Linked DNA regions of Homo sapiens: region 2 is linked to region 1. The links are contacts of gene promoters, found by promoter capture Hi-C in blood cells and fetal thymus (Javierre and others, 2016). All regions are on one chromosome and are shown on one strand. Each heading gives the region's core, a stretch centred on a gene start or on the middle of the fragment in contact. The rest is flanking DNA. Distances are from core to core; before and after follow the strand shown. Region 1 holds the start of CUBN (cubilin). Region 2 overlaps CUBN (cubilin).

The links. Contacts are between HindIII fragments. The CHiCAGO score rates a contact against its expected background, and 5 or more counts as called.
Region 2: a contact is called between a fragment that was not itself captured here and the fragment with the promoter of CUBN in region 1, in 1 of 17 cell types (M0 macrophages). The highest score is 5.4, in M0 macrophages.

The regions. Positions count from the first base shown.
Region 1 is chr10:17,128,006-17,131,782 of GRCh38, forward strand. CUBN (cubilin) reads right to left here and starts at 1,806. Exons shown (of 67, transcript NM_001081.4): 1 at 1,639-1,806; 2 at 1,116-1,245. The coding sequence starts at 1,760. The HindIII fragment of the contact is 5,551 bases long and covers 1-3,777 here.
Region 2 is chr10:17,037,914-17,041,520 of GRCh38, forward strand. CUBN (cubilin) reads right to left here. Exons shown (of 67, transcript NM_001081.4): 27 at 3,120-3,307. Among named protein-coding and RNA genes, the nearest start is that of CUBN, 90 kb to the right of the region's middle. The HindIII fragment of the contact is 775 bases long and covers 1,743-2,517 here.

The DNA of each region.
Region 1 (3,777 bases), core at 556-3,055:
TGAGTAGTATTCTACTTTAAGCACTAAGATCTTGCCTATTATTATAAAAACCAAAACAACACCATGCGTAATAAACACTGGGCTAAAATAGCCACAGCATAATTCCACTTATCCTTTTCAGTAACAATAGATCAAGGTATTTTCCATTTGTATGTTTTCCTATAATACCAGTTTAGGGTGCTTATTAAGAAACCTGGCTTGGAAGCAGACTGTTTAGGTTTTAAGTCCTGGCTCAGCTATTTATTGCTGTCCTGGGCAAGTTACCTAACTGCTTCAGGGTTTCTTTACCTCTTGTAAAACTAGGGTGACAATAAAGGCCACCTCATAGGACAGCTGTGAAGGTCAAATGAGATAACATCCATACGGTGCTAAGCACAGTGGATGGCCCACAGTAAGCTCTGAATAATGCTGACTTCTAACATTATGACTGAAATATGCAGTGATTATTGGGAAATGAAAACACCCAGTAAGGCAGGAGAATAACTGGCCAATTCTGTTCTGTGGCAAAAGCAAACTGGTCACATGTCCACATATCCTTGGTCCCCTACTTCCTCGCATCCCCTGTGGAGGAGTTTCAGTTCCACCCTCCGTGCCTTCTCTGGACTAGGGTGCATTGTCTGGCACAATGAGCTTCTATCTTTTAGCATACTCCCTCTACCCACTATTAACCCCAGGCCATCGTCCTTTACAAGAACATGTCTGATGCCCAATTATGTTCTCTATGCTAAAGATTCAAGGTACACTAGGAAGGGGGAGGGAGGCTGAAGACAGGTTGATTAATGAATACAATATATAGTTAGATAGAAGAAATAAGACCTAGTGTTTGATAGACCAGTAGGGTGACTATAGTTAACATTAATCTATTGTACATTTCAAAATAACTAGAAGAGAACAATTCATATGTTCTTAGCATGAAGAAAAGGTAAATATTTAAGGTGATGGATATCCCAATTACCCTGATTTGAACTTTACACATTATAGGAATGTATCAAATTATGTATTAATAAAAAATAATAATTAAAAAAGATTCAAGGTACAGATTAATCTAGACTTGTTCAATTAAGTCACCGTATATGGATATACAAAATGACTTCAATATATTTCCAGTGTATTACCTGATGTAAACACTCACTGAGATCTTCATCATTTAATTTAATTTTTCCCAGGGATCCGGTTCTAAACTCAATGTTTTGAGCAGACCCCGTAAGAAACACCAAATTTCCTCTCTCTGTAGCCATTCGAGGCCTATATAATTCAAACGAGAGAATGCATCAGTAATTAGCAAGTACAATTTTTAAACCAAAATAACAAAGTTTCTTACTGAATAACTACAGGCCAAATACATCTTCACTTTTTGATCATCTCAACCCAACTGCCCCTGCTCATCTGCCACTTTTTTCTCTGCACATTTCTCAGAGATACCTCCTGGCAATTGCAAACAGATTATTTGCAAAATGACAGATAATAATTTGTGCATAGGAAAGTAATTTCATACCTCAGTCTAAATGTTTTTCCCTGTTTGCTTCTCAACATAATTTTCCTCAAGAAAAATTGCACCTTTGTTTATCTGGCTATTTGGGAAAACTGGTGAGGAATTAGCCTAGTCCCTGAGCAGGAATGACCCATGTGTTTACTTACTGTTGGAGATTGATGCTTCTTTTTTGTCTCTGCAGCTCAAGTTCTCCAGCTTCGCCATTTACTTCAGCAAATATTAATAAGGTAAGCAAACTCCAAAGAAAAGGTAAAGACATGTTCATCATCAACCTCCCAGGTTGGCAGGTAAGAGTGAGGCCACTCCAACCAACTGAGCATGGGATTTTGGAGAACAGCAAACCAGGCAGGTGTACTTTGAACCATGGAATATCCTGTAACTGTTGAGTTTTTTCTTCTTTGCCCTAGAAGGCTATGTTATTTTTTCTTCCAGAGGGATGTAAATGATCTTAGATCTTCAGTACTCTTCAACTTGTGAGAGGTCAAAATCTACCTTAAGTGATGCGCAACTTAATCATTATCTATTTGACCTTTGAAACAGTAACAAGCAGCTTTGAAAACATCCACTTAAACAATCTTTGCTTAAGAAGTAACTAGGTTTCAACAAAAGTAAACTGGTCATTATCTACACCTTTCTCTGTTCCCCTCCTTCCTCACCTCCCTTGCAGAGGAGTTCCACCTTTACCCAGCGCTAGGAAAACTAGATATCCACATGCAAAAGAAGTTGGAGGCTTACCTCATACCATATGCAAAAATTAACTCAAAAAAGTTCAAAGATCTAAATCTAAGAGCTAAAACTATAAAATTAACTCACAATGGTTCAAAAAATCTGAAACTATAACATAAAACTCAGAAGAATAGGACAAAAATTCATGACCTTGGATTTTGGATTTGGCAATGATTTCTTGAGTATGATACCAAAAGCATGGGCAAAAAAAGAAAAACACACAGACAACCAAAAGATATAAATTGGAATACATCAAAATTAAAAACGTTTGTGCATCAAAAAATACATCAACAGAGTGAAAAAGCAACTCCCAGAATGGAAGAAAATATTTGCAAATCATATATATATGAAAATGGGTTAATATCCAGAATGTACAAAGAATTTGTACTTTTTACTTTTTATCATCCCTGTGGGACCTATGGACGGCTGTGGAATCCATTCCCACTTTCCACACTGCGCTATACACCCTTCCAGCTGGATATATGGTTTGAGGACATGGAGCACTGATGTCCCCACTCACTCTGTGCTGGGACTACAGAAACCACTGAGAGTGATGAAAATATTCTACATTTCGATTGTAAAATCAACTATTGATGCACTCAGACTTTCCATGAGCACACAGACAAAACTGAATTTGAGGGAGAGCTGTAAAAATTTCACTTCTAAGAAAAATCTCTAGGTAATTACCATTGCATTGGTTAATACCCATGCAGGCTCTTTCAGGACAAGCCTGTTTGTGTTTTACTTATTTTGTGTCTTACTTATGTAGGCTCTTTGAGGAGAGGATCATTATGTACCATAGCTTATAATTCTTTACTTATGCCGGGCGCGGTGGCTCACGCCTGTAATCCCAGCACTTTGGGAGGCCGAGGCGGGCGGATCACGAGGTCAGGAGATCGAGAACATCCTGGCTAACGTGGTGAAACCCCGTCTCTACTACAAATACAAAAAATTAGCCGGGCTTAGTGGCGGGCGCCTGTAGTCCCAGCTACTCGGGAGGCTGAGGCAGGAGAATGGCGTGAACCCGGGAGGCGGAGCTTGCAGTGAGCTGAGATCATGCCACTGCACTCCAGCCTGGGGGACAGAGCGAGATGCCGTCTCAAAAACAAAACAAAACAAAAAAAAACTTTACTTGTGATACTCAAATAGTCACTGCTTTTAAAAATTTTTTTTAAACCTTCCCAATTTCTTCTATATGTCTCTTGTATCTGCTTCTTTCACTCAACATAATGCTTTTGTAATTCATCTGTGCTGTAGTGTATATCATTAATTGGTTCCCTTTTATTATTGAGTAGTATTTCATCATATGGCTATCCCACAGTTTGCTTCTCTACTCATCAGTTGATAAACACTTGAGTTATTTCCAGTTTGGGACTATTATAAATAAAGCTGTTATGAACATTTGTGAACAGGTCTTTGTGTCAACATAGGTATCTCATTACAATTTTAATTTATATTTCCCTAATGACCAAAGATGTTGGGCATCTTTTTATGTATATTTGCCATTTGTTTATCTTCTTCGGTGAACTGTCTGTTTAGATATTTTGCCTATTTTTTAA
Region 2 (3,607 bases), core at 880-3,379, 90 kb before region 1:
CTTCCCTTGGCTCCCATGACACAGTCACCTTTTTTTTTTTTTTTAGACAGGGTCTCACTTCGTCACCCAGGCTGGAATGCAATGGTGCGATCCCAGCTCACTGCAAACTCCGCCTCCCGGGTTCTAGTGATTCTCCTGCCTCAGCCTCCTGAGTAGCTGAGATTATAGGCCTGAGCCACCGTGCCCAGCCACAATCACCTCTTAGTGTTCCTACTTCCTCTTCTCACTACACACATGCTCCCTGTTGACTTAACAAATACCCTGGGCTTCCTATACATCTCCATGTTGATTTCTCCCAAATCTATCATTTCCATTTCTATATTCAATCACTCGTTTGAAATCTCCTTTTCTGCATGGAGACTCAGACTCAAAATAAAAATGGAAGACTGAAATCAAGTTGTAAAATACAGCCAGAACTCTTCAGGTTGATTCCCCATGTTTGCACGGGCAAATGGTCTCACTCCTTTAAGCAAATGGTCCCTTCTCCCACTGTATATTTTATTTCCAGATCTGAAATATTTTGTTTTGCCCAGAGGGTGAAATAATAAAGGATGCATTTGGTTTCCAATGGGATCTTTTCAAACCCATTCCTCTCATCAAGGCGGGATAGTGTCTGACCAGCACGTAATTAAGTCTTTTTGTAGTTTCCATTTTATTAATTCAGAATAACTAAATTCTGGCTCTAGTAACAGGCATCCAGTTGGGATTTGGGGAAGTCAGCTGAAAAAACCCAGAAGCGATTAAAATAATGGAAGCTAGATTTCTGTGTGTGTGAGTTTTCTCTCTGTAAATGGTTGTTTGTGTGTTAAAATTTCCATCATAGACCAGCTATTGCAGCTATTGCTCTGGTCTGGCCTCTTGGCTCACAGAGATGGAAAACAATCTCCTCCCTCTGGCAACAGCGCCGTTTTTTTGGAAGGCCTTTCTGAACTTCTGGTTCTCATTTTGTATTTTTGCTCTTTCACCGTCAATGTTGCACAAGAGAAATGGCATGACCATAACATGACAGACACGTCATCCATAAGGGGCTCTAATGAGCTACTCTGCAGTTGCTGGAACAAGCATTTTTTAATTTGAGTTTTTAAACACCTTTTTGTTGCCATTTCATCCTCAAATGAGTCGAAAGAAATGGAGTTCAGGTCCTGGAAATGTTTCATCTCTTTCCTCCCCCCTCTTTCTGCCAAAGCCTCCTTTAAAGCCCAATTCAAAAGCATCCTCCTTTCTGTGGCTTTCTCCATTACGCTTTACCAAATCACGATTATGGTGCCCAGCACACTGTTATACGTGCAACGCTCGGCAAGATCATGAGTCCTATTTTGGTTTGTGCTCCAATTTGTAGGATTGCACTGCGTGTGTAGGAGGTCGTACAAAAACGCCAGTTTGGAATTCAATCTTTCTCATTCATTAGTAGTTATCATTAGACTGATACTAAAATATGGCTGTGATATTCAATTCAACTTGAACTTACTGAACTCCTGTAATGTCCCACCTGTATAATAAGTGCCTGGGTTACAAAGTTAGTAGGAGACAGCACAGACCTTCGAGAAGCCCACAGTCCAGTGGGAATCAGAATAGTCCTAACTGGTAAAAGGAGGTATGACCAACTGCTGTGTTCACGGTATAAACAAAGGGCTTTGAAAGCAACTTTTCTGCTTTTTCTAAAACACAAACAAGGTCTCACCATGTGAAGAAATGGATGCCTATTCTAGTAGTATCTTAATGATACCATCCTGGTATCATTAAGCTTGTGAAGACCAGTTGAACTCCAGGTCAAGGAAGGTGGACTTTAAAACCATTGCCAAGTACGTGCTTGTAAGTTTGTTTCATGTTGTGTCATATTTTCTTAGAATACTGGTAAACAAAACTTTCTAATGGGTAAACACTATGGCTAATATTTCTGTAATATTGTACTTTTGTAAATATAAGGCAAAATTTTTTCCCAAAAAATTATCTCTGAAAAACAAGGGAATCTCCTTATAGTTAGGACCTCACAGAGTCTCTCAAAGTGCAGAATGCTTTGTTGTCACTCTTTGTTTTCATAAACAAAAGTGCTATTTGGAAAATATATGTTAACCTCAACCAACCTCAACCAATGCTAGTTTTCCTATACAACTTGTAAAAACACAATTAAGAACATTTTACAAGAATAACATATTTTTTCCTGGGAATATGACCCCAGAGTTGCCAGCAATGGATGTTGAAGTCTTTGTAAGTAAGACTTCTAAAAATCACTGACCACCTTAAAAACAACTACCTTAAGTCACTAGGCTGCAGGTAGGAGGGCAGGTGGGAAAAAAAATGTCCTGTTATCAGAGCAAGTACTTATCACTTCAGAAAGGGTATCTAGTGAAAACATTATATGTGGATTTTTTGAAGTATTATATATTAACAATATAGACAGAAATAAAGATAATGCCTTAGATGACTCAAAAAGTTATTTTACTGATGATGAAACGTAGATGCCAAAATAACCTCCCAATTTGTAGCCCTAAAAGTTACATATGCAAGTTATCAAAAAGCTTTTTAAGTTAAAATTTCTTATTGCAAAAATAACATATTACCTTATATTCAAGGTTGCCTAATATTTAAGCAAGATTTATTGCCTGAAATTGCATACAGACAGTTGAATAAATGTTACTAGTGGTCATGATTATAACAATTGAAACTTCAATTTTACAAAAATAAAAATATACTGAAATGAACTTACATTTAAAAATAAAAACAACAATTAAAACCATGATACCTCATACTAGAAAAATGACATCTTAAATAAATCCAAGATACCCAAACATTTTCTGATCTCTTATACACAGAGAACAAACATAAAAACAACCAACAAAAAATAGAGGTTATTACTCTCCTTCCATGTAAGTTAAGTAATATGAGGTCAATGAGTCCAGAAGTTACACTGAAACCTAAAAACATAGATAGTTCTCTGTATTCACAATTTAATACATTAAATATGAAATATACCTGTTCAAATACCATGGGTGGTTGGTGTGTTATAGATGCGTGGGGCAGAGTTAGGGATTTTATTCTAAAAAGCATGATGGATTCTAACTTGACACATCTCCCTTGATCTGAAAAAGCAGTGATCAATCAAGCTTTATAATACATACCTCTAAATAATCTGTGGAGCAGTTTATGTGATGTTCCAAGTCAAATGCTAAAAATGTGTAGTTCACAGTGTTGCCTGTTGTTGCCCGGATGGTCCAGTTGCAATGCTGATTTTCAGAATAAGGATTCGGATACCCTATACTCTCTAAGATGCCATAGGTTTGATTGACTATTACCACATTCTCACATGCTGGAAAAAGAAATGACTGTTAAGAACCACTATTATATACTTCATAAGTGCTCCAAGATGAGATTTTCCTTTAAAAAAAATAAATAAAAATCATCTGTGTATGTACACACACACATATATGATGTGTATATATGTGTGTGTATATATACACACACAGAGACACACACACATATATATTTGGTGCAGTATTTTCATAGTGAAAGGATTTCCATTTAGAAGAAATGTGAAATAATACTGAAGTGAATTCAAACTAAAGAGTCATGAAAATTAAATAGTCATGTTAAAATAGGCATCAAATTC